Linked DNA regions of Homo sapiens: all the other regions are linked to region 6. The links are contacts of gene promoters, found by promoter capture Hi-C in blood cells and fetal thymus (Javierre and others, 2016). All regions are on one chromosome and are shown on one strand. The core of a region is centred on a gene start or on the middle of the fragment in contact, and the rest is flanking DNA. Distances in the headings are between cores, read along the strand shown.

Evidence for each region. The method cuts DNA at HindIII sites, captures the fragments that hold promoters and counts their contacts. A CHiCAGO score of 5 or more calls a contact.
Region 1: a fragment that was not itself captured here is called in contact with the fragment with the promoter of UBXN4 in region 6 in 10 of 17 cell types (erythroblasts, M2 macrophages, total CD4 T cells and 7 more); the score reaches 9.7 in erythroblasts.
Region 2: a fragment that was not itself captured here is called in contact with the fragment with the promoter of UBXN4 in region 6 in 3 of 17 cell types (total CD4 T cells, naive CD8 T cells and non-activated CD4 T cells); the score reaches 5.9 in total CD4 T cells.
Region 3: a fragment that was not itself captured here is called in contact with the fragment with the promoter of UBXN4 in region 6 in 3 of 17 cell types (fetal thymus, naive CD4 T cells and activated CD4 T cells); the score reaches 5.6 in fetal thymus.
Region 4: a fragment that was not itself captured here is called in contact with the fragment with the promoter of UBXN4 in region 6 in 5 of 17 cell types (monocytes, non-activated CD4 T cells, total CD4 T cells and 2 more); the score reaches 8.3 in monocytes.
Region 5: a fragment that was not itself captured here is called in contact with the fragment with the promoter of UBXN4 in region 6 in 13 of 17 cell types (non-activated CD4 T cells, naive CD8 T cells, total CD4 T cells and 10 more); the score reaches 11.6 in non-activated CD4 T cells.
Region 7: a fragment that was not itself captured here is called in contact with the fragment with the promoter of UBXN4 in region 6 in 12 of 17 cell types (erythroblasts, activated CD4 T cells, total B cells and 9 more); the score reaches 11.1 in erythroblasts.

Annotation. Positions count from the first base shown.
Region 1 is chr2:135,086,548-135,089,757 of GRCh38, reverse strand. The region is part of intron 3 of RAB3GAP1 (RAB3 GTPase activating protein catalytic subunit 1); the gene reads right to left. Among named protein-coding and RNA genes, the nearest start is that of RAB3GAP1, 36 kb to the right of the region's middle. The HindIII fragment of the contact is 4,398 bases long and covers 1-3,210 here.
Region 2 is chr2:135,109,815-135,113,237 of GRCh38, reverse strand. It overlaps RAB3GAP1 (RAB3 GTPase activating protein catalytic subunit 1), which reads right to left. Exons shown (of 24, transcript NM_012233.3): 6 at 1-87. Among named protein-coding and RNA genes, the nearest start is that of SNORA40B, 25 kb to the left of the region's middle. The HindIII fragment of the contact is 1,365 bases long and covers 1,075-2,439 here.
Region 3 is chr2:136,380,847-136,384,264 of GRCh38, reverse strand. No RefSeq gene overlaps it. Among named protein-coding and RNA genes, the nearest start is that of CXCR4, 260 kb to the right of the region's middle. The HindIII fragment of the contact is 1,658 bases long and covers 468-2,125 here.
Region 4 is chr2:135,069,229-135,072,708 of GRCh38, reverse strand. All of the region lies in intron 3 of RAB3GAP1 (RAB3 GTPase activating protein catalytic subunit 1), which reads right to left. Among named protein-coding and RNA genes, the nearest start is that of RAB3GAP1, 19 kb to the right of the region's middle. The HindIII fragment of the contact is 6,083 bases long and covers 1-3,480 here.
Region 5 is chr2:135,041,295-135,044,859 of GRCh38, reverse strand. The region is part of intron 1 of MAP3K19 (mitogen-activated protein kinase kinase kinase 19); the gene reads left to right. Among named protein-coding and RNA genes, the nearest start is that of MAP3K19, 4.4 kb to the left of the region's middle. The HindIII fragment of the contact is 4,100 bases long and covers 1-3,565 here.
Region 6 is chr2:135,740,539-135,744,068 of GRCh38, reverse strand. It overlaps UBXN4 (UBX domain protein 4), which reads right to left and starts at 2,214. Exons shown (of 13, transcript NM_014607.4): 1 at 2,058-2,214. The coding sequence starts at 2,139. It overlaps LOC107985946 (a long non-coding RNA gene), which reads left to right and starts at 1,425. Exons shown (of 1, transcript NR_163478.1): 1 at 1,425-3,240. RefSeq lists a silencer at 1,627-1,676 and enhancers at 973-1,748, 2,077-2,136, 2,467-2,596. The HindIII fragment of the contact is 10,462 bases long and covers 1-3,530 here.
Region 7 is chr2:134,959,165-134,962,929 of GRCh38, reverse strand. It overlaps CCNT2 (cyclin T2), which reads right to left. Exons shown (of 9, transcript NM_058241.3): 9 at 3,588-3,765. Among named protein-coding and RNA genes, the nearest start is that of CCNT2, 42 kb to the right of the region's middle. The HindIII fragment of the contact is 2,736 bases long and covers 902-3,637 here.

The DNA.
Region 1 (3,210 bases), core at 130-2,629, 650 kb after region 6:
TATGGCTGCATAGTATTCCATGGTTTATATGTGCCACATTTTCTTAATCCAGTCTGTCATTGATGGACATTTGGGTTGGTTTCAAGTCTTCGCTGTTGTGAACAGTGCTGCAATAAACATACATGTGCCTGTGTCTTTATAGTAGAATGATTTATAATCCTTTGGGTATATACCCAGTAATGGGATTGCTGAGGCAAGGAAATAAGAGAGGACACAAACAAATGGACAAACAGTCCATGCTCATGGATGGAAAGAATCAATACTATGAAAATGGCCACACTGCCCAAAGGAATTTATAGATTCAATGCTATCCCCATTAAGCTACCACTGGCTTTCTTCACAGAATTAGAAAAAACTAAATTTCATATGGAACCAAAAAAGCGCCAATATAGCCAAGACAATCCTAAGCAAAAAGAACAAAGCTGGAGGTATCACGCTGCCTGACTTCAAACTACATTACAAGGCTACAGTAACCAAAACAGCATGGTACTTGTACCAAAACAGATATATAGACCAAGGGAACAGAACAGAGGCGTCAGAAATAACACGACACATCTACAACCATCTGATCTTTGACAAACCTGACAAAAACAAGCAATGGGGAAAGGATTCCCTATTTAACAAATCGTGCTGGGAAAACTGGCTAGCCATATGCAGAAAACTGAAACTGGACCCCTTCCTTATACCTTATACAAAAATTAATTTAAGATGGATTAAAGATTTAAACATAAGACCTAAAACCATAGAAACCCTAGAAGAAAACCTAGGCATATTAGCAAAGACTTCTTGATTAAAACACCAAAAGCAATGGCAACAAACACCAAAATTGACAAATGGGATCTAATTAAACTAAAGAGCTTCTGCACAGCAAAAGAAACTATTATCAGAGTGAACAGGCAACCTACAGAATGGGAGAAAATTTTTGCAATCTATCCATCTGACAAAGGGCTAATGGATCCAGAATCTACAAAGAACTTAAACAAATTTACAAGAAAAAACAACCCCATCAAAAAGTGGGCAAAGAATTTTAATTTTTTTTCTTTTCTTTCTTTTTTTTTTTTTTTTTTTTGAGATGGAGTCTCGCTCTGTCACCCAGGCTGGAGTGCAGTGGTGCGATCTTGGTTCACTGCAACTTCCGCCTCCCAAGTTTAAGCGATTCTCCTGCATCAGTCTCCCATGTTGCTGGGATTACAGGCATGCACCACCACGCCTGGCTAATTTTTGAATTTTCAGTACAGACAGGGTTTCACTATGTTGGCCAGGCTGGTCTTGAACTCCTGACCTCAAGTCATCTGCCCACCTCAGCCTCCCAAAGGGCTGGGATTACAGGCATGAGCCACCACACCTGGCCAAAAATCATAATTTTTTTTGTGTGGGGTGGGTTTCTTTACCATGAGGTTGACCTGTGTTAAATCAAGGCATCAACTGCGTATACCAAAGTCTCAAGAGGCAGTAAGTAATATGATAATGTACATAAGAGCTTGTTTTGCTAGAAGAAATGCCCAATATAAAGCAGTTATGGCTAAAACTAGGTAAAAGAAAGTCCAGAAAAGGAGAGAGAAATCCCTTTTTCAAGTTTGCAGTAAATCTTTTTAAATGATACAGAGATACTGTCTGTCCCTAATTCTGGATTCCGGTACTATTGTCAACCTTAACCAACAACTATCTAGAGGAAGATCTGATTGTATTCAATAAAGACAAGGCATCCAAGTTCTGTCTCCAAAACAGACTCAACTGATAAACAACACTCTAACATCCCATATTCAATTCCATTAGGATATAGTCACTTGATACCAAGTTCCAGTAAGGCATGTATCTGCTATGCGAACCGAAATGACAATTCTAGTTCATCAAAACTGACCTAGTAATTCATTAAAAATTACCTTTGAGGATCCTAACCAGAAAATAAAGAGATAAATGTATAGATTTAAAAGAAAACTGTCCCTATTCACAGATTACCTGATCATGTATGTAGAATATCCAAAAGAATCTACAAACAAATGACTAAAACTGATGAGTTTACAAAGTTATGAAATTCAAGGTCAATATATAATAACCATCTGTATTTTTATATACTAGCAACAAATGCTTGGAAAGAGAAAGTTTTAAAAATACCTTACTACAATTAAAAAAAGAAATTATCTAGGAATAAACTTAATGAAAGATGAGCAAAAACTCTACCTAAAATACTTCAAAACACTGCAGAGAGATATTAAAGACCTAATAGAGATACATCACATACATGGATTGAAAGATAAAACACTGTGAACACACCAGTTCTCCCCAAGTTAATCTATATATTCAACATGATCCCAATCAAAACATCAGCAACAGGCATTTTGTAGAAATTGACAAGTTGATTTTAAAACTAATATGAAAATCCAAAGAACCTAGAACAGCTAAAATAATTTTGATGAATAAGTATACTACCTGATTTTAACACTTTGCTACAATAATTAAGACAGTATAGTATAGGCATAAAGACAGACAAACAGATCAATGAAATAGAGTCCAGAAATAACATTCGCACTTACATTTGACTTCACAACAGAGGTGCTACTGGAATTCAGGGGGGAAATAATAGTCTTTTCAACAAATGGTGCTGGAATAATTAAATATTCACATGGAAGAAAACATGAGAATATCTTGGGATCTTGCAAATACCTTGGGATAGGCAAAGATTCCTTTGACCAGACACAAAAAGCACTAACAATAAAATTAAAAATAGAGAAAATGAACTTCATCTAAATAAAATTTGTGCTTATCAAAAGACACAGTTAAGAAAACGATTAGGTGGCTGGGCACAGTGGCTCACACCTGTCATCTCAGCTCTTTGGGAGGTCCATCAGGGAGGATCACTTGAAGTCAGAAGTTCGAGACCAGCTTGGGCAACAAGACCCTGTCTCTACAAAATAATTAGCTAGGCATGGTGGTGTGCACCTGTAGTCCCAGCTACTTAGGGAGGCTAAGGCAGGAGGATCACTTGAGACCAAGAGTTTAAGGCTGCAGTGAGCTATGATTGTACCACTGCACTCCAGCCTGGGTGACAAAGCAAGACCCTATCTCTAAGGAAAAAAAAAAAAAAAAAAAAAAAAAGATTAGGGGAAGCAATGGACTACAGGAAAAACAAAATACATACCTGAAAAAGCACTTGCAACCAGGATATATGAGGATAATAAAAAAAATGAACAATCCAAATTTTTTAATGAG
Region 2 (3,423 bases), core at 508-3,007, 630 kb after region 6:
CTCAGAAGAAGGTTGCACTTAGATTCGCTGAGAACAGCGTCACTGTGTGCAGCAGGGGCAATCACCACGAACTCACGTAGCCCATACCTTAAAAAAAGAATTAACTGCATTAAACAGGGGAAACCTCAGAACACAAAAATCCATTACTTGAAAAGCACAAAAAAATTTCACTACAGAAAATTTAACAAGTCAGGTTTAAACTAAAAGTGTTTCTTTTAATGGCAACAGAACCTACAAGACCTCAACTTTAAGAAGCACTTCCATCATCCACCTACTAGTTCCCCTCTATTCTTTACAAATTAGAAACAATTTGCTGAAATCTAAATTTGATTCAGCTAAAATAGGCTCAGATATATTTGCGTGCCCATCTGTGTGTGTGTGTGTGTGTGTGTGTGTGTGTGTGAGAGAGAGAGAGAGAGAGACTTTGACAGTTGTAAATACTTTTTCCGCTTTGCCTACTTTATGTTGTATACCCATGTGTTTACTAACAAGTTGATCACATGGGTGTATTCATAAGACCACTGTAATATTGATGTTATTGTTGCCGCTTGAGAAAAAAAGGTCAACAGCTGATTCCTTAAAACAACTGTCACAGAATGGCTGGGCTGAGAACGCTGCCAAGAGCCCTGCAGCTGGTGGGAGAAGTGTCTGGTGGGAGAGGTGTGTGGTGGGAGAGGTGTCTGATGCCTCGGCCTGCTGCTTCACATCTCTCACTCAAGAGTTTCTTCTGGTTTCACACTTTTTAACCTCTCCGTGCTTTAGCAGCCGTGACCTTGCCTTCATTGCTTCATCCAGTGCAGGCCTGGGTTATTGAAGACACCAAAGTGTTTCTCTTTCAGCTTGAAAACCAGGCAGGTTTACACATGGGTTTCAGTGTATTTGCCTTTGAACCCTTAACTAAACTTTAGCCTTTTGGCTGGTATAGAATGTCTTTAGCTGGGGTGACCTGGGACGGTGTTGCGGTTTACCGTCTCCAGCTTCAGCCTTTCCAGAAACCCTTGTGGAAGGCAGTATCGGCTGTAGGTTTCATCATCATATTACAGTTTGAGGTCACCACTATTTGGGGGACAAGCTTGCGTCCTGCTGAGGGGCAGGGTTTTCAGCAGAGGGTCAGTGGTGGGGCTGGGCCATCGTGGAGGTGGCCCCAGGAGTTGTATGGCCATGCATATGGCCATGCTCTAACACATTCCGTGTGGTCTGCTCAGAGCTGGATGCCTCCTTTAGGCAAGGTTTACAGTCTATTTTCTAAAGTTTTAAGTATTTTTAAGAGGTATTGAGACTAATGAATATAATAGTTGAGTAATTTAAATGTTTATTTTTAATGGAAGGATTTTTACTAAAAAGAAGCTAATTGACATGGAAATGTCAGTGAAATTCCTTACCTACAAGGAAAGTAAACATTTTGTATCTAAGTAAACTATAATGTGCACATTTTAAGTATAAAGAAATCTGATATTTGAAAGAAAAAAAAGAAACAATTTGCTGAAATCACAAGGACCATTAAACAATAGTTTTGCCTTTAAAGTTAAGTTTACAAGATAAAAGAGGCAAGTATTGAAACTTTGCTTTAATGAACTGATACCACTAAGTCTGCAGATGAAGAAACTTTGACAGATTCCCTAAACTGCAGGAAAATTATCAGCAATGATGTATATGTCCTTTCTAAATGTGAGAACACAGTTTACTAAGTATCCTAATTAAAGAATTCTTGTGTTCTTTTACTCAATAACACATTAAAAAGGGGTTAAAAAATTATCATAAAGCAGCTTGATCTTGCTATGACATCTACATTAATTAAAACTTCTCATTCAGTTGCCATATCCTTTAAAGTCACAAATTTGCTGCCAAATTTTTATGAAAATAAAGTCAAACTGATTATCCTGTATACTGAAAATTCCTCTCCTATTCACTCTTTAATGTATTTATATTTAATATTTTTTAATAAAGAAAATAACTTATGAGAGATTTTACTCATTTGCCTAATTTATTATCTCTGGTATATAAAGAATTATTAATCCTTATTTTTATAAACATCCTCCTCAAGAAATGCCCCAAACAGGAGTAATGATTTAAAAAATTAAGTTTAATTCATAATGTTTATTATTTAGATGACAAAAACTTATTTCATTTCCTCACCCTACCTCCACCCTCCTAGCCCTGAAATCAAAATTAGTTATGCAGAGGCAGCATAAAATAATGAAAATAATCTAGAGCTTTAAAAATTGAGCTCTAAAGATCTTTGAAAAATAGTTTTCTTTTTTTCAAATGTCCCTGGAAGAAAGAAAACAAAACAAGTGAACATCCCCGTTCCATCCTCTGTACTTGTATAAAATCACTGTCAACAGTTTCTTGGTTATTCTTCCAGAAATGTTCCATTTATCTGCGTAACCACCCTACCCTCAAATACAATTATATTATTTGTATACACTTTGTAAAGCTTCTTTTCAAAAGTACAATCCCCTATTGATCAGTACTTTATTTCCAGTTTTATGCTGCTGCAACAATACTGCAACTGTTTTTCTACATCTATATCTCTATAATAAATTTCTAGTGGTTGCTGGATAAAAGAACATTTGCATTTTAACACTGATAGCTGTTGCTAACCTCCTTACTGTACACACACACAATGCCACTGTATACAAGCCATGAATAACAAGCCAAACTGAATTGCCATTTATCTGCAATCTACCTTCTATCCCCTAAGCCTTTCTTTCCTCTATCTATTGATAAAATGTCTCCCCCCATCCATTCTACTGCCATTACTAAATACACAAATCCTGACAAATTCTTTAAAGATTTACCTTGCCAGGTGTGGTGGCTCACACCTGTAATGCCAGTATCTTGGCAGGCCAAGACAGGAGGATCACTTGAGCTTAGGAGTTCAAGACCAGCCTAGGCAACATAGCAAGACCCACTCTCTACAAAAAATTGTAAAAATTAGCTGGGCATGGTGGAGAGCGCCTGTAGTCCCAGCAGCTTGGGAGGCTGAGGTGGGAGAACTGCTTGAGGCCAGGAGGTCAAGGCTGTAGTGAACCATCATCACACCACTGCACTCCAGCCTGGGAAGCAGAGTGAAACCTCATCTCAAAAAAAAAAAGGATTTACCTCAAATATCACTCTTGATAAATGTACTCTCTTCTTTATGATCTTTAAAATGTCAATATAAGTCACTACTTTTTCCCCAATAGGTCTACTTGAATCCTGAGACTATGTCTTCATCAAAAGTAAACTAACATTACGTGGGAGCTTTAAAAAAAAAATAAGCGAAAATCAACAACAACAACAAAAAACAACCAACCAGATTTTAAAATGGGCAAAGGACTTGGATGGATGTCACTCAAAAGAAAATACACAAAGGCCGGGAGCGGTGGCTCACACCTGTAATCCCAGCACTTTGGGAGGCCGAGGCAGGCGGACCATGAG
Region 3 (3,418 bases), core at 47-2,546, 640 kb before region 6:
GCTGTAGCTCAGATGGTCTATAGCCATGCCTCTGAATTTTATCTGTGTGTAAGACTTACTGGTTCATCAGAACAGATGCTGTCCAAACCTCTTGTCGCAGCCACCACTTTCTTCTTTCACCTCTCTCCAAAGTCTCCCATATCACACTGCCATCCATTTGGTTAGTAGTTTTCATGCACAATCCTTTCCATTTTTCATCACACTTTCACTGCATGATCTCATTAGAATCTCATAATGCAAACTCAAGGTAAGTAGAGAAGGTGTTAATGAGCTTTTCCACTTACCCCAGGCAATAGTTACTCTGTTCTGTGTTCCCATATGTTGCATATTCCTTTATTATAGACATTTTTGCTATAGTGTAGTTATTCCTTTACCAAGTTCTACCACTGTGTGTTTCCTTAAGGCAAGAGTACAGATCTATCTTAACAGGCTTATTGCAGCACCCACCCCCGCCCCCCGCCAAAGCTTTGCAAAGTCCTTGAGATATAGTAAGTATTGAATAAATGTTTGTTGATTTGAATTACTATACCCATTTGACAGATAAGATAATCAAGTCATACAGAGGAGCTAAATAATACAGATGCTACAGCTACTGCTTGAAATGAGTAATGGAAGAACAGGGGATAGTACATGTATGGGCCAACTCGAGGAATAAACAATCAAAGAGAAAACATCTATTGCATTCTGACTCTGGAACAAATGCCCTGAAGAGATATAAAGATAAAATAACAAGACATGATCATAGTCTGAGACTCTCGTCCAGTGACTGGTGGGCCCCTTTAACTACTCTGTATCTCAGTTTTAACTCATTCAAGTGAGCAGGCTGAAGGATAAGATCTATTATGGCTCATTTGCATAGGCTCCTCAGTATTCTGGTTGAGGAAATGCTACGTATCATCTATTTGCACAGATGGACTATAGACATGCCAGCATACGTATGGCCATGGGATTAACAAAACATGCCACATGGGCAAATAGAATCAGGTTGAAAGAGCAGTCCAGACCACCCTGAAAAAAAAAAAAAAAGGCCTAAAGGAAGAGAGAACTTGGAGAACTGAAGAGTGAAGCAGGCTTTATAAGAAGTGAGGCCAGGGCTGTGGCTAAAGTTGAAATTTATACAGGCAAGAATGACTGACGGGGTGGAAATGAATGGAGGGGGTACACAAAGTGTGTGTATTTAGAGGACAGTAATATCAGGAAGCAGGGCAACTACTTTTCCAGTGGTCTATGCCTGGATGTGAAGGGAGGTGTTTGAGGAAAAAAGAAAGCCTGTCTCCACTTCAGTCCAGTGTTATTTCATCTCTCATCTGAACTCCATTCCTGTTTCATTTATCTTGCTGGTCTCCCAATCTAAATTAGGTTTTGCCCCATTGTACAGTCTCACAGCATTCTGAACTTTAACGTCACAGCAAAAATCTTAATTATACATGCAAGTAAGCTGTTCTTTCTCTATTGCCTCTGTCTCCTGCAGGACTGAAAGGTCTTTGAGAGCAAGACCTGCAACTGTTTTATTCACTGCTGAATCCCTTGCACCTAGCATATAGTAGGTGTGCAGTAAATGTCCAGTGAACTACTACATGAAAATCAGGAATATATGAAAAACATGTCTGTCTGATGGCAGGGCCGCCTTCCAGGGCACAGTTGCTCTGGCTGCCTGGGCAGCTTAACTCAAAGTCAAGTGAGGTCGTCAGTGACAGGTGCAACCACCACCCAGGCCGAAACTTTGGAGTTTGAGTGTCACGGAGAGTGAGAATGTCCTATTTCTGTTTGAGAAACACCACCACCAAGTTTCGTCAGCAGACCCTGCCTTTGACGCTGCACCACATCCCCTCCCCATTTCCTCTCAGTCAAAACGGAAGATGCTTTTCTTTCCAAACAAACTTCTCTTGAGCTTCAGGGCCCTCCCAGACCTCCCTAAACCCACCAATCCCAGCACCCTGCCTCCTACTCAGTCCTGCAATGAGTGACTTTGTCTGTACTCATTCAGATCCATACACACCCTGTGGTCGGCTGTGTTTGTTTCTGTTTTTAAAGGGCTGAAGCAACTGAGTCTCAGAAAGAGCAGGTGACTTCTTGAAGGTCACACAGCTAAAAGCCCCGTCAAGGGCATCCAGAGCATAAAGCTTTGTCATGACGCTAGTTGCTATTTAAGTGCTTGCTAGACTCTGCTAAGTGCTTCCTCACATGACCCCTGCCGATCCTCACACCAGCCCTGTGAGATGAGTATATTATGAAGCCCAGTTTATCAGAAGGCCTAAGTCACGAATTAGTTGGATAACCAGCTCAGGGTCACTCTGCTTGAAGTCACAGATCTGATTCTAACTCGGGACCGAAGCTGACCACATAGCCTCAACTCTCCCCTACATACTCATCACATGGCTGCTGGATGATTTTTCTCTGCTTCAGATTCTCACTTATTCCACTGGACGCTCCTTGAGCAATGGAGTCACATGGTGGGACAGGTGGCCCCTGGTCACTGAAAGGCATTCCACCCAGAGGGACCCAACTTCAGGAAGTAACAACCTCTAGCACCCCCACACCTGCCTCCCTACTTTTCTCCACGCCCCTTCTTTCTTGCTCTCCCATCCACTGCAGGCCCCCACCAGGCCTTTCCTCCCTGAACCCAAACTCTCCTCCTCCCAATTATCTTCACACCAAACTCAGCTGGTTTTCTAGGGGGATGCACCTGACAAGCACATTGACTGTGACTAGCACAGCACCTACCCCAAATATGGGGCATCCCTTTACAATTCAAGCACATCTTATTTCAGCCAAATCTACAGGGACCATTTCTGTCAATTCTGTAGTAAAAATTTTATAGCCCGGGGAGTTTCTCCACCAGGGGCACATGTACTTGCATTTTAACACAGAAAAACCTTAGGAGGGAGAAGAAGGCCCCAAACATGAAGGCTGTAAATATGGATGTTCACCTCTTAACCTCTCCTGGCCCCAGCCCTCTGAAGCTGGAGACTTAAGAATAGCTGCTATAGGGGGCCAGACATGATAGCTCAAACCTGTAATCCCAGCACTTTGGGAGGCCAAGGTGGGAGGGGATTACTTGATGTCGGGAGTTTGAGACCAGCCTGACCAACATGGAGAAACCCTGTCTCTACTAAAAATGCAAAAATTAGCTAGGCATGGTGGCGCATGCCTGTAATCCCAGCTATTCAGGAGGCTGAGGCAGGAGAATCGCTTGAACCTGAGAAGCAGAGGTTGTGGTGAGCCAAGATCATGCCATTGCACTCCAATCTGGGCAACAAGAACGAAACTCCATCTCAAAAAAGAAAGAAAGAAAGAAAAGCTGCTATATATCAAGCATCTACTCTGTGCCTTGCCGGCCATTTTTACTTGACCCCTAAAACCACTCCATGCAGTAGGTTGCATTGTCCCAGATTTACAGGTTTTAAAAAATGAGATC
Region 4 (3,480 bases), core at 228-2,727, 670 kb after region 6:
ATTTCTTGTCCTAAAGTAAAATAACTCATTGTTTAAAAATAAGGGATGTTCAGGACAAGTCAAAAAGTCCAAGCATATAATAGATGGTCTACGTAAGTCATGAGAAAATCATGACAGGAAATTTATAAAAAGAATATTGTATGTAATTAAAGCATAATAGTCTCTCTAAAATTGGTTCCCTATGTTGTGTCTAACTAAATTCAAACACTTTTTCATCAAGTTTAACTTCCAGGTTACCCAAATGGGCTTCCAATAAGGACAAAAAGTCACACTGCAAAAGGTTTTTTGCCTTTTTGATAACTGGCTTAAGAAACAAAACTTTATCTTCTAGAATTCTACAGTTTCACCTACAAATGATACTGCAAACGGGATATAAGTCTCTCCCCAATGATGCCTGCTACTTTTATGAATCTTCCCTGGATTCAGTTGAATGCTAGTTATGTCTTAACATGCTCCCCCTCTCCGATAAGTCCCTTCCTCCAACAAGATCCAATATATGGCTGGGCACTGTGGCTCATGCCTATAATCCCAGCACTTTGGGAGGCTGAGGTAGGAGGATCACTTGAGGTCAGGAGTTTGAGACCAGCCTGGTCAACACAGTGAAACCTCGTCTCTACTAATACAACAAAGTAGCCAGGCATGGTGGTGCACACCTGTGGTCGCAGCTACTTGGGAAGCTGAGGCACGAGAACTGCTTGAACCCTGGAGATGGAGGTTGCAATGGGCCAAGATCACACTACTAGATTCCAGCCTGGGCGACAAAGCGAGACTCATTTCAAAAAGAAAGAAAGAAAGAAAGAAAGATTCAATACAATATTCTAAGTCCCACAATCCAGGACAATGACCTACAGAGTCTCCTGACAGACCAACAGCCATTGGCAGGGCCATTGCCATACCCATGGTTAGCAGGAAGTGGTTGGGAGATGAGACCTCTACCCTCAATGTCAAAGACTTGTCATCATTGTTCTGCTGTGGGGGGAATGTGGAGACCTGATAGGTAAACAACAACATGGAAGGGGAGCATGTAGCCCCAGGAACATAACCTCATCCTGCATTTAGGCCCCTCCAGCTCCTTCCTCTTTGCAGACAGCCCCTTTTCTGTTGTGCTGCACTTGCACCCTTGCAACATATCTTTGTATCTTCATACTTTCTCTAATAATTCTTTTTTTTTTTTTTAACCTACGACTGTCTTGGTAAATTATTTTACTACCTGCAACACCAGCCCCAGCCAGTCGTACCCACAACAGAAAGGAATTCAAAGATAGGAGCCTAAAAGAAGTTTCTGTGACTATTTTAGTAAAATATGAAACCAAACTATTTTTGTAACATCAAGTAATTACCATCCATTCAAATATTTTAAATAAATTAATAAAACTGCTTTCCACTGATTAGGATTAGCATAATATTTTGGACAGGGGATGAAGTTAGGGGGGTAGAGACTGGAAACAAAGGAAAAAAGTGGGTAATTTTGGAGCATTTAAGGGCCAGTAAAATGAGGCTCTGGGCCTCAAGGCCAGGATACTAGGATTATGAAAAAGGGTAAGATGGTAGAAGGGTATCAAGGACAAATTTCACCAACTTAAAAACTACCAGTCCTGTATGTGCATAAACTGTGGCTTCCACACAAACCTGTAGTCTCTATCATACAAGCTGTCCCAAAAGTACATGTTCAAGTAAGCCTTTGTATATATAAATTCTGTCAACATGAAATACATTAATTTTTAAAATAATGAATATATACCAAAATATTTTTAAACGTTAGCTTTTATTTAACCTTTTTGGGGTCATGGGCTCCTTTGAGTATCTGACAAAAGCTATGGACCACCTCCCAAGAAAATTGTGCATATTCACATTCAAAATTAAGAATGCATACAATTTAAAGAGACCCAAGACTCTGGATTAAGAATTCCCTTTACAGGCCGGGCGTGGTGGCTCACGCTTGTAATCCTAGCACTTTGGGCGGATCACGAGGTCATGAGTTCGAGACCAGCCTGACCAACATGGAGAAACCCCATCTCTACTAAAAACACAAAATTGGACGGGCGTGATGGTGGGCACCTGTAATCCTAGACACTCGGGAGACTGAGGCAAGAGAACTGCTTGAACCTGGGAGGCAGAGGTTGCAGTGAGCCGAGATTGCGCCACTGCACTCCAGCTGGCTGACAAAATAAATAAATAAATAAAAATAATAATTCCTTTTATAGGCCAGGAATTTGAGACCAGTCTGGACAACACTGCAAGACCCTATCTCTACTTAAAAAACTAAAGACAGAAAGAACACCCATTATATACCATGGTAAAGTCCTTCTATCCACGATGAGCTATGTGGCTTTTAAACTGGTTGAACTCTAACTGCCTGAACAGCTCCAAGTCATTAGTTACACATGTTGACCTAAAAGAAGAAGCTGAGGCAAAATAACAGAGGGATTTTATTTGGGCCAAAGTTGAGGACTGCAGCCCGGGACACATTTCCAAGTTGCCTTGGGGGGTGTTCTGTCTGTCTGTCTGCCTCTGTTACAAACAGGTTTTTAAAGGAAACAAGGAGTGAGCTGATACCAAGTTGTTTGACAGGAATTCTCATTGGTTTACAGAGATAACACTGATTAGTGATTGGCTATACATTGTTGAACTACAGGGTATGAATTATAATACCCATCGTATGGCATTTTATGGCCATTGGCATCATTTAACAACCCACATGGCAAGTGGCTTCAAGGTAATTATTTAGCTCAGGAGAGGTGAGACTGCTGTTACATTTTAAATGACTCTTTCTGATGGATAATTTAAAGAAGCTCCCATTCCTCAGATAAAAATTTTTTTTCCTTTCCTGGAGGGAGGCACAGAAAGTATGACAGCTGAGATAAAATGACTGTGGAGTAAAGGGAAAAGGGTTTAATAATCTGGAGGTGAGGGAGGGCAGGGGTAGAAGGTTGTTTTAATAAACAGGAAGTGAGGGGGATAATTCCTACTGCACAGTAGGCTCTCTACAAATAAATAAATGAAAAAAATGAATAAAACGAACAAAAAGAAGTAGTTGAGATGATGAAGAATCTTTTATGACATGGCCCCAAAAGTAGAGAGAAAAAATTAATATTTTATTTGCTACCCTGTAAACATATCTTAAACACATCTGTTCTATGGAAAAATGCAATTGAAATTCTCAACAACCATTTTTACAAAGTTTTAGAAAATGACTCATCCATAAAACTTGCCAATTTATATGAAATTCATTAGAAGGAAAAATCAAATCACTAAATCAAAAACCTAAAGGGAAAAATGACTAAATAAAGAAAAAAAAGTACAGAAAATGGTTAATTATAAAACTAAATGCAGAAAAATTAAACTACAGTTATTTTAAAAGGTACAAGACCATCCAGAAGACTTTCCATCTTCTGTATAATGCTTTTAAAAATGCCACCATCACCATATTTTAACAAAATTCCCAGGTAAGTAAATGTGGTCTGTTTACACTGCATATCT
Region 5 (3,565 bases), core at 715-3,214, 700 kb after region 6:
ACTACATGCCTTATAAGGATATACACTTATTGAGGATACCTCTCAGGCACATTAGATTGGGTTCTTATCAGGCAGAGGGGATCAGAGCTGAAGGGAAAAAATAAAACAAGAGGAAAGCCTGACACCATCCAGTGTGGCTAGCAAGGAGTAATGATGAGCTCATCCCCATCTAGCTAAGGTCCAAACATGAAAACGGAAATAAGACTATTCTGCAAATGTGCCTTTAAATACTAGTTCCATTACATCTTTTTTGTTGTCATTGTTTGTTTGAGATGGAGTTTCACTCTTGTTGCCCAGGCTGGAGTGCAATGGTGCAATCTCAGCTCACTGCAACCTCTGCCTCCCAGGTTCAAGTGATTCTCCTGCCTCAGCCTCCCAAGTAGCTTGTATTACAGGCATGCACCACCATGCCTGGCTAATTTTGTATTTTTAGTACAGATGGGGTTTCACCACGTTGGCCAAGTTGGTCTCGAACTCCTGACCTCGGGTGATCCACCCACATCGGCCTCCCAAAGTGCTGGGATTACAAGTATGAGCCACTGCGCCTGGCTCCATTACATCTTTTTGGGCAGTAGCACTCTCATCTCTCTGGAGTGAGATACCATTTTGCCAATGTCTGTGCTTCATTTTCCTCATCTATAGAATAGGGATAATAATACAACTGTTCTGATGGTGTTATTTGGAATTAAATAGAACAAACACCTGTAAACCATTTAGAAAAGCATATGACACGTAGCAAGCATTCAATAAATGTTGGGCATGATTGCTGTTGTTGTATTATTGTTATTATTATGTAACTTCACTTTGAACAAAGGTAGATAAAGACTTGAGGAATTCATTCACTATTTCAAAGTATTCTGCTAGAAATTTGAAGGGGAAACTAATATCTATTCTAGCAAGTTTAAATCAAAAGGAGTAACAGGTAGTAATGATAAATGTCAATTAGAAAACAAAGTGGATTGCAAGAAAGATTGTGGATTCAATTCTAATCACAAGATCTGTGTTTCTAGAAGTTGCCTTTTAATGTGGCAACTGATTGGGAGCCTCCCAGAGAAATAAAAAGATCACCAGTTGCCCAGGGTTAGTGAGGAGGGAGGAATGAATGGGCAGAACACAGGGGAGTTTTAGGGCCATGGAACTATTCTGTACCTTCTAAAATGGTGGATGCATGTCATTATACCTTTGTCCTAACCCATAGAATGTACAACACCAAGAGTGAACCCTAATTTACACTATGGACTTTGGGTGATAATACTGTTTGTAAGTTCATCTATTGTTAACAAATGTACTACTCTGGTGCAGGCTGTTGATGGCGAGGCCAGTAGGGGGCAGTGGAGAGGGAATATTCTGTACTTTCTGCCCAATTTTGCATAAAAAACTTAAAACTGCTCTAAGTAATAAAGTCAATTTTTAAAAGTCTATTAAAAATCTCTTTCAAAGAAAGAGAGTCGCCAGGCTCATCCCAGATCTACTAAAGGAAACTTGGAATCTTTATAACAAGGAAATGTTTATGTTCAAGCAAGTTCAGGAAACTGCACTGAGCTAAGGCCACCATTTCTTTGAAAGCCAAGAACACCAACCACACACACTTGTTTACATACTGGCTCTGCTGCTGACCTCATCTATTGTCTTTCTGTAAAAGGAATCACCTGCCCAGTAGTGGGTCCTCCCTTAGTTCCTGGACCCCAACCTCTTGGACCTTTTCATTGTCTATGGTCAATCAGTCACAAATCCTGTGAACCCTCACATTCAAATTTTGTTGTTGTTATTGTTTTTTGAGATGGAGTCTCGCTCTGTTGCCCAGGCTGGAGCGCAGTGGTTTGATCTCGGCTCACTGCAACCTGTGCCTCCTGGGTTCAAGTGATTCTTCTGCCTCTGCCTCCTGAGTAGCTGGGATTACAGGTGCGCGCCACCACACCCGGGTAATGTTTGTATTTTTTAGTAGAGACAAGGCTTCACCATGTTGGCCCAGCTGGTCTTGAACTCCCGAACTCAGGTGATCCCCTCCCCTCGGCCTCCCAAAGTGCTGGGATTACAGGCGTGAGCCACCATGCCCAGCCACATTCAAATTTTTGTTTCTGCCTTTTTCCTCTGCATCATAATAATCTTACTAAAGTACCAATGTTCCTAAAACGCACTGCTGAAAGCTCTCCATGGGCTTCCCGATGTGTTGGGGAATCCAGGGTAAATTCCCATCTGGTTTTACTCTCTCCTCCTCGGCCCCAGATAGAGGCCTGAGTTCATGCCTGTCCTTCATCAGAGCTGCCCATTCTCCTTCACTGTGACTCTCCAGATATCACGAATGCCTTCTTTCTTTTTTCTTTTTAATTTTCTTTTTTCTTTTTTTTTTTTTTTTTTGAGACAGAGTCTCGCTCTGTCGCCCAGGCTGGAGTGCAGTGGCGCGATCTCAGCTCACTGCAAGCTCCGCCTCCTGGGTTCACGCCATTCTCCTGCCTCAGCCTCCAGAGTAGCTGGGACTACAGGCGCCCGCCACCATGCCCAGCTAATGTTTTGTACTTTTAGTAGCGACGGGATTTCACCGTGTTAGCCAGAATGGTCTCAATCTCCTGACCTCGTGATCCGCCCGCCTCGGCCTCCCAAAGTGCTGGGATTACAGGCGTGAGCCACTACCTGGCAATGAATGCCTTCTTTCAAGGGGATCTTCCAGATCACATGGCCAGCCCATTTCTCTGACATCTGTAAGATTCATTATCTGATGTTTACATGGACACTTAATCACGTGTGTTCTTTCTTGTATTTTATCTAACCTATTTTGTGTTATGTTTATTGGGACTGGTCAATGAAAGCTGCTGAAGGGCATATAGCATCTTCCTAATGAATGGCTGAATTCATGGGCTAGTACTATTTCTAGAGTGAAATAGTACATGTTCTAGAGTACTATTTCTAGAACAGAACACATGTTCTCTGTGTTTCTGTACATGTTCACGTAGTCTGGCCCATGAATTCTGAAGGTATTTGTGTGTTTAGAACATTAAAGAGCAAATCTAGACTTTTTCTTGTTTGTTTTTCTTAGCTATCCTCCACAAACTTATACTATGAAATGAGCCTCTTGTTCTTTTGCTTTCAATCTCATGCCAGATTATAGCAAGGAAATTGCACATCGAATCAATAGCATGTGGCTACATACAGTGACTGTAGTGTCAGAAGCAGAAGTTGGAGTATAGAGCCTGACAAAGGATGTCGTGCTGTTACTAACAGCAAGAGACTCCAGGCTGGGTGCGGTGGCTCACGCCTGTAATCCCAGCACTTTGGGAGGCCAAAGTGGGCAGATCACCTGAGGTCAGGAATTCGAGACCAGCCTGGCCAACTCGTCTCTACCAAAAACTACAAAAATTAGCCAGGCATGGTGGCGCACCAGTAGTCCCAGCTACTCAGGAGACTGAGGCAGGAGAATCGCTTGAACCCAGGAGGCAGAGGTTGCAGTGAGCCAAGATCGTGACACAGCCCTCTAGCCTGGGCGAGAGAGTGAGACTCTATCTCAAAATTAAAAAAAAAAAAAAGGTTCCATGCAGGAGAGGGTAGTTCGGTGACCTCCAAAATTGCA
Region 6 (3,530 bases), core at 965-3,464:
CACTAATCCTACTTAGTCTTGGGGATTAACTGGCTAAAGCTCTAAAAAAGCTAGCTGGATTTTGGAACAGGTCAAGGGACAGACAGAGACTCCTTTGTGAGATTGCTAACAGTCTTCCTGCAAACATTCAAGAGTCATTATATTCTAAATACATGTAATACATGCTCATCAGTAAAAACTTAATTGAAGAAAGTATATATATATACACAAAACCCCGAAAGGCAAGACCTATAACTTTATTTAACTATTCCAATAATTTGTACTAGAGTTTCCAAATATTAATATTTGTTAATAAAAATCTCTCGTTTCTTTTTTTAAATTAACTGATTTACCTCAAGAGTGCCTTCTAGGAATGTTTGGACATTTGTTCAAAAACATGACTACCATAATCCAAATTTCTGATTTCTATACCAATTTAAATCACCAATTTACAAATTGTTCAGTTTTTTCCTTAAGAAACAAAAAAGCCAGTTTTTTTGAAGCTACTAAAAAATTTGACTGTTAAGACATGTAAATCCTTTTTGTGGCCCTAGTGCAAGTCACTTTATGACTGCTGACCTAAGTGCCTCATCTATAAAATGGGGATAATTAAACCTGTTCTATTTACTGCAAGGATCAACTGAGATATTAGGAGAAAAACAATTTAAAATGTCAAAAACCTACTAATGTACACAATAAGCATAGTGTCATTTACTTTTCCTTTCATTTTCAATCCATTTTTTTCCTTACGGGATTACAGAATTAATTTATGTAAAGTATAATATAACCCCCAGACAGCATCACAGAATCTAAACTATTCAAGCTCTTCTAATAAACAGCATTGAGCTAAAAACTTGGCGTAACAAAACAATTATAAATTCCAAATTTAATGCTAAATGACATTCACATTTCAGTAATTCGTTCTTCACTGCAGTGCATAAAGTTATAGAGCTATTAAAAGACGAGTTAATTATGAATAAACCGTTATTAAACACAAATAGTTGAAGAAATACACCTCAAATTAACAACAGCCACAAACATTGATTTGGTCCATGTAATGAGTATGAGCAGAACCGTAGAGGCAGGGAGTTCACTGTAAATCTACAAGATTTCAGTAATAAAACAGGAGAATATGGAGCAAAATAGCCTAGAGCAACAGAGAATATATGAGTTAATAAACGTTCTCAAAGTCGTGTAGATTTTAGCCTAAGAAGACAACAAAGGGAAGAAACCAAGGACTGAACGTCTATTTTCTTTGAAACTAATGGATTTTTTTTAAACTTACATTATTTCACACTAGATCCCCTACCAAGACTGCCATAAAGAAAAATTAAACCTCTATTCAGCTCAAAAGTTTACGTTTCAGGAACGTACTAACACCAGTAACCGTGAACATCAGGTGGTTTCTCTTTGTTGCTTATCGATGACACAGCTTTCTTCCCGACAGTCCACAACTAATTACAACCCAACTGCTTGCCTAATGGCCCGTTCCTACCTCCATCTAAACAGCAGTAACGAAACGGGCGTTCAAGCAGCACAAAGAGGGTCCTTGGTGACAGAGAGGGACGTCAGGGAGAGGGTCGCGGGGGTCTGGCTGCGCAGGGGAGAGGCTCGGGGCGACGAGCGGGGCTGGGCGGCTGGGGCCTGCTGGCCGCGTCCGTCGCCCCGAGCGGGGAGATTTCGGCGGGCCTCGGGGCGCTTTGGAGACCAGGGCCAGACGGTGCCTCCGGCCCGGCTGCCGGGAGACGCAGCGGTGGGGCCAGGCCCACTGTATCTCAAACGAACCGGGGAGGCGCTGAACAGCCACGGGCCGGCAGCCCGGGCCTCGCAGACACTGAGGAAAGGCTGGGGGCGCCCGGGGCCTGAAGGAGCAGGGCGCTGAGGGTCTGCATGGCCCCTCTGGGGGATCTGGCGGCGGAGTCGCAGCCGTCCCTGGGGCGCGGGGTAGTAGTGGCAATTGTGCGAGCCGACAGGAGCCCGCGTCTCGGGGAGGGCGGGCCGGCGGCTGAGGTATACAAGAGGATGAAGGTAGGCCGGAGGGGTGTCCCGGCCGCCTCTCGAACCCCTGCCTCCTTCACCTGCCACGAACACCACGAAGACCGCGCCGCTCCTTTTGGCCGTCGCGATGGCGGCCGGAATGGCGCCCTGGAACCACAGCATCGCTCCCTTCGGGCCCAGGCGCTCGCTCGGTGTGTAGTCTCCGCAGTCCCGAAGCCGGCTCCGCCCTCCGTCTTCGTCCGGCTCTGCGGCCCCCGCAACCTTGGCTGGTTCGGCCCCCACCTCCGGCTCCGCACAAGCGCGCACGCCCGTCAGCGGCACCCGGAGACGCGCGCTAGCGCGCGCGAGAACACCTCACGTCACAGTCGCAACCCGTCGGTGTCCGTGCCCCAGGACCTTCTCTCGTTGGCGAGTCGATGGTGCGGGCGCGCGCCCGCTAGGCCTCCGGTCGCGCAGTCCAGGAAGTGGAGGAAAGCGGTAAGAGGGATGACTAACCGCTAAGACACGTCGGCGGCGCCTGCAGTGAGGCATGATGGGAATTGTAGTCCACTTAGGCTTATTCGCCTCCATATTGTGGAGCATGTAACTGTGGGTTCTGAGGCACAGCTAAAGGGGGCAGTAGTGAGGGCCACTACACATTCTATAAAGGGGAGAGGGAGAAATAAGTGTCACTCCAACTGGCATATGCTATTCTCGGCCTCGTTGAGACTCTCAGTGTGGAGGAAATAGTCCTCGCATGGAACTAAATGGGCTTTGTCGGGATTAACTCCGAGGCTTTGATTTCTTCTGAACGTAGCCCAACCTTGCAGAAAAACGGGATAAAAACCGCAAGTCACCTTCTTTAATAACCTGTAGTCCATGTGCCTAAGCGGAGGAATTGGTAGAACGCAGGCCTTCAGCAATTTCCTAGACACTGGATAGAGATCATTTCAAAACTTCAAAACGCGTTAGGCTATTGCCACAGCTACTTTTTAAAGTAACACAAAGCAGAGAATAGATTATTTCTTTTCCAGCTACTTTCCATGGTAATACAAAAGAGACTAGATAGTGATTTATTTTCCAATTTTCTGGGAGAATGTCCTATAATCAAGATGTGGCGCTTTGTGATTGGCTGCCATTAAATGAAAACTGATCCATATTTAATACTTTCATGAAATCACATGGTCTGTAATAACTATTAGCTAAAGGCTTGCATGGTTTATTTAAAGTTGCATATACTATTATGTTAAATTCTACATCAATTAAATTTATCCTCCAGCAGTACATCTATCTGACAATCTTTGCAAGATAAAGGAAGTGATACATCTGAATATACCACCTTTCCTACAGATATTTTCCCTAAAAATAGCTAATTATTTGCACTCCGATTTTTGTACTTTTTTTCCCAATCAGGCCTCTCGTATATAGTGTTATTATAAACTGAGACATAATGCTGATTAGGGACAGTTGCTTCTATAGGACAACAATCCTACAGAAAAATTAGAATTGACCTTTAACATCAACTTTAATGGACTTCTGGAAATTTGATCAATCTAGAAATTATTCCAATAGAG
Region 7 (3,765 bases), core at 1,020-3,519, 780 kb after region 6:
CAACATAATTTTGAAAGGTTAGGGCTTATTCCTTTTCCATTTTGGAGGGATCTTCAGCATTCTTTCAAATCTGAATATTATATTGGATTTTAAAGCAACTATTTACAATCAAGCCTGTTAAACCCTATGGGGAAAGGGCAAAGAGTAAGACCTGTTAATACTGTGTATAGAGATCACCGTAATGGACACAAGAAGTTGGTGTTAACAAGTTTATTCCTATTCTACTGAAATATAAGGGTACTGAAGACAATTTTGGAATATTGAACAGAAACTTCAAAAAGCTGAAGTTTTGGCCAGGCAGGGTGGCTCACCCCTGTAATCCCAGCACTTTGGGAGGCCGAGGCAGGTGGATCACTTGAGGTCAGGAGTTGGGAGACCAGCCTGGCCAACATGCTGAAACCCCATCTCTACTAAAAATACAAAAAATTAGCTGGGCATGGTGGCGTGTGCCTGTAATCCCAATTACTTGGGAGGCTGAGGCAGGAGAATCGCTTGAACCTGGAAGGAAGAGGTTGCAGTGAGCCGAGATCACACTACTGCACTCCAGCCTGGGCAACAAAAGCGAAACTCCATCTCAAAAAAAAAAAAAAAAAAAAAGCTGAAGTTTTCAATAGGCAAGCCTTGGTCCTCAAAGCTTCTGTGTTTTTGTTATTCACTGTGTTTAAGACATGAACAATTGTTTGGAATTACACTCTTCATTATCACTGCCCATATGTGTGCTCTCTTCCTTTTGAAGAGGGTCTGAAAGGAGGTTGGGAGTGGAGGTAGGTTGGGGCTGGGATGGCTAGCATTCACTGAGCTTTTAGCAGAAAAAGGCACATCATTTCATTCTAGCTGCTGATTGGGATGGTAGTATCGTCCTCCCTTTATTATTTTGAGTACTTTAATGGTGTGAAAAGCTTTTCATTGTTCACCTAGCAGTAATACCGTCCTCCCTTCCATGAGCATCACCCTTTTCCCAAGGCACAACCGCTGAGTTTTCAATCACATTGAAAACTCATCTTATTATGTACTAAATTCCTGTATGCTCTGGGCCCAAGCTCAACCAAAGACATTTTAACCCCCAAGTTCTAAAAAGTAGATCTACAGCATCTCCTTAACTTTAACCTACTTTAGTCGTACACTGTGTAATGAGTAGCTCCAAGATAATAACCCACTTAATCTGCTCAAGGAGCAGCCAAAAGCTGCATACCATCACCTACCAGGCCGTCTTTCTTCTTCATACGAGCTGCACTTACAAGTATTAATTCAGTTTAAAGCAGCTATTTAAATGCAGAAACTTGCATTTTAAAAATCTTTCCAGGTGATTCTGCCAATTAAAAAATCTCTGGTGTAAGCAGCCTCTCTCTCTACTGGTAATAAAGTTTAAAAAAAAGTTTGTATATGCCATTACACTGTCAAGTTTATAGAGGATAGTGCTTTCTCCTATTGACAGGACATCACGACATTATGAAAATCCATGGCTGAATTCATCCATAAAGCAGTCACTAACAGGCTGACGTGAAAGACTATAGAAAACTGGCCTCCTCAACTGTGTCTGAACATTTGAAAGGTCTAAGTAAGCCTCTTAATTTCATGGCAATATAATAAAAATATTTTGTCAGTGAGGCCCTACATTGTTTTGGGAGGTGGTATTGAGGGGAAGGAATAGGCAGGCCATATGCTACAGCTAAAATAAAAACATACAATTTATTATATTGAAAAGTGCAGGGGGCAGGGGTGAAGGAATAAACAATGGACTTAGATGAGTTTGGTTAGATGGAATTACTCACTTTGTAAAGTTAAAACCCATCCAATTTATTATGTTAATAGAACAAGCCCTTACTGGTGTCAGCACCAGTGAGACAAATCTCTTAACTGTGATACAAAAAATATTTATGTTACATTTAGGCTGAAAATGTTTTATTTTTAATTAAAAAAAAATTTTTTTTTTTTTGAGATGGAGTCTTGCTCTGTCGCCTAGGCTGGAGTGCAGTGGCGCTATCTCGGCTCACTGCAACCTCTGCCTCCCAGGCTCAAGCGATTCTCTCCTGCCTCAGCCTCCTGAGTAGCTGGGACTACAGGCGCGCACCACAACGCCCAGCTAATTTTTTTGTATTTTTTAGTAGAGACAGGGTTTCGCCATGTTGGTCAGGCTGTTCTCGAACTCCTCACCTCAGGTGACCCGCCCACCTTGGCCTCAAACTCCCAAAGTGCTGGGATTACAGGCATAAGCCACCGTACCCGGCCTGAAAATCTATTTTAAAAGAAGCGACTTTTCTATCCTAATTCTACTTTATCAAAGTTATTGCAATTAGCTTTCATTTTCTTTCAAGTGGAAGGTGCAGGGAAATTGCTGGTAAGGAGAGGGAAGCTGGCGAGCAGCCTTATTAAAGAACAGCTTATGCTTAAATATTTTTGAAGGGGCCGGGCATGGTGGCTCACACCTGTAATCCTAGCACTTTTGCAGGCCAAGGTGGGCGGATTGCTTGAGCCTAGGAGTTTGAAACCACCCTGGGCAACGTATCAAAACCCCGTTCTACCAAACACAAGAACAACAACAAAACAAAACAAAACAAAACAAACAAAAAAACCACAAAAAAACCCCCCAAAATTAGCCGGGCATGGTGGCACATGCCTGTAGTCCCAGCTACTCAGGAGGCTGAGGTTGGATGATCGCTTGAGCCTGGGAGGCGGAGGCTATAGTAAGCCAAAAATCACACCACTGTACTGTACTCTAGCTTGGCTGACAGTGAGAACTTGTCTCAAAAAATAAAAAATTTTAAATGGGTACTGCAACTATTCTTTGTGCTTTTTATGGGAGTGATGCAAGAGGTTAGACAAGAAAATCTTAAAACAGAAATTAGAATGAACAACTTAAGAGAATTCTGGACACAGCGGGCATGCAGTATTTAATATGTTCCAGTTACACACCTGGATTGGCCTTCATCATTCCAATATCCCACATCTACCCCTCAATTAGGATTCTCTTTAATGCTATTCTATCTAGCCTTCCTTGACCATCCAAGCCTTACACAACTCTATGATGAACAGGTACTACTACTAACACTTTGTAGGGAAGAAAAAGCATGAGATCAAGTAATTCACCCAATGCCATTCTGTTATTAAATGGTAGGGCTGAGACTAGAGCATGGACCATTTGATCCCAGAGCCTGCACTCCTGAATGATACATGAAATTACTTGGATAAAGGGTCAATTATACTAGAGATCTCACATTTTCCAGGGACTGAAAGTTACTTCTGTTTTTGTTGTTGTTAAGGAATCTTGCTCTGTCGCCCAGGCTGGAGTGCAGTGGTGCGATCTCGGGCTCTCTGCAACCTCTGCCTCCTGGGTTCAAGCGATTCTCTTGCCTCAGCCTCCCGAGTAGCTGGGATTACAGGCATGCACCACCACACCCGGCTAATTTTTGTATTTTTAGTAGAGACAGGGTTTCACCATGTTGACCAGGGTTGTGTTGAACTCCTGACCTCAGGTTATCCGCCTGCCTTGGCCTCCCAAAGTGCTGGGATTACAGGCATGAGCCACTGCGCCCCACCTCAAAGTTACTTCTGATTCACATTAACTTAAGACATGTTAGAGCCTTGGATTTATGTTGTCAATAAACATTTTATTAGTTCCTTGTATGGATAAGAAGCTTAAAGTCAATGACTAATTCATGCCATATACACATATTCCTGTTTTAGATTTTCTATTAGCAAACATCCTGTTCAATTGTTGTTGGGAGTTTTGAGTACATTCAGAAAATGAAACCCCACAATCACTGT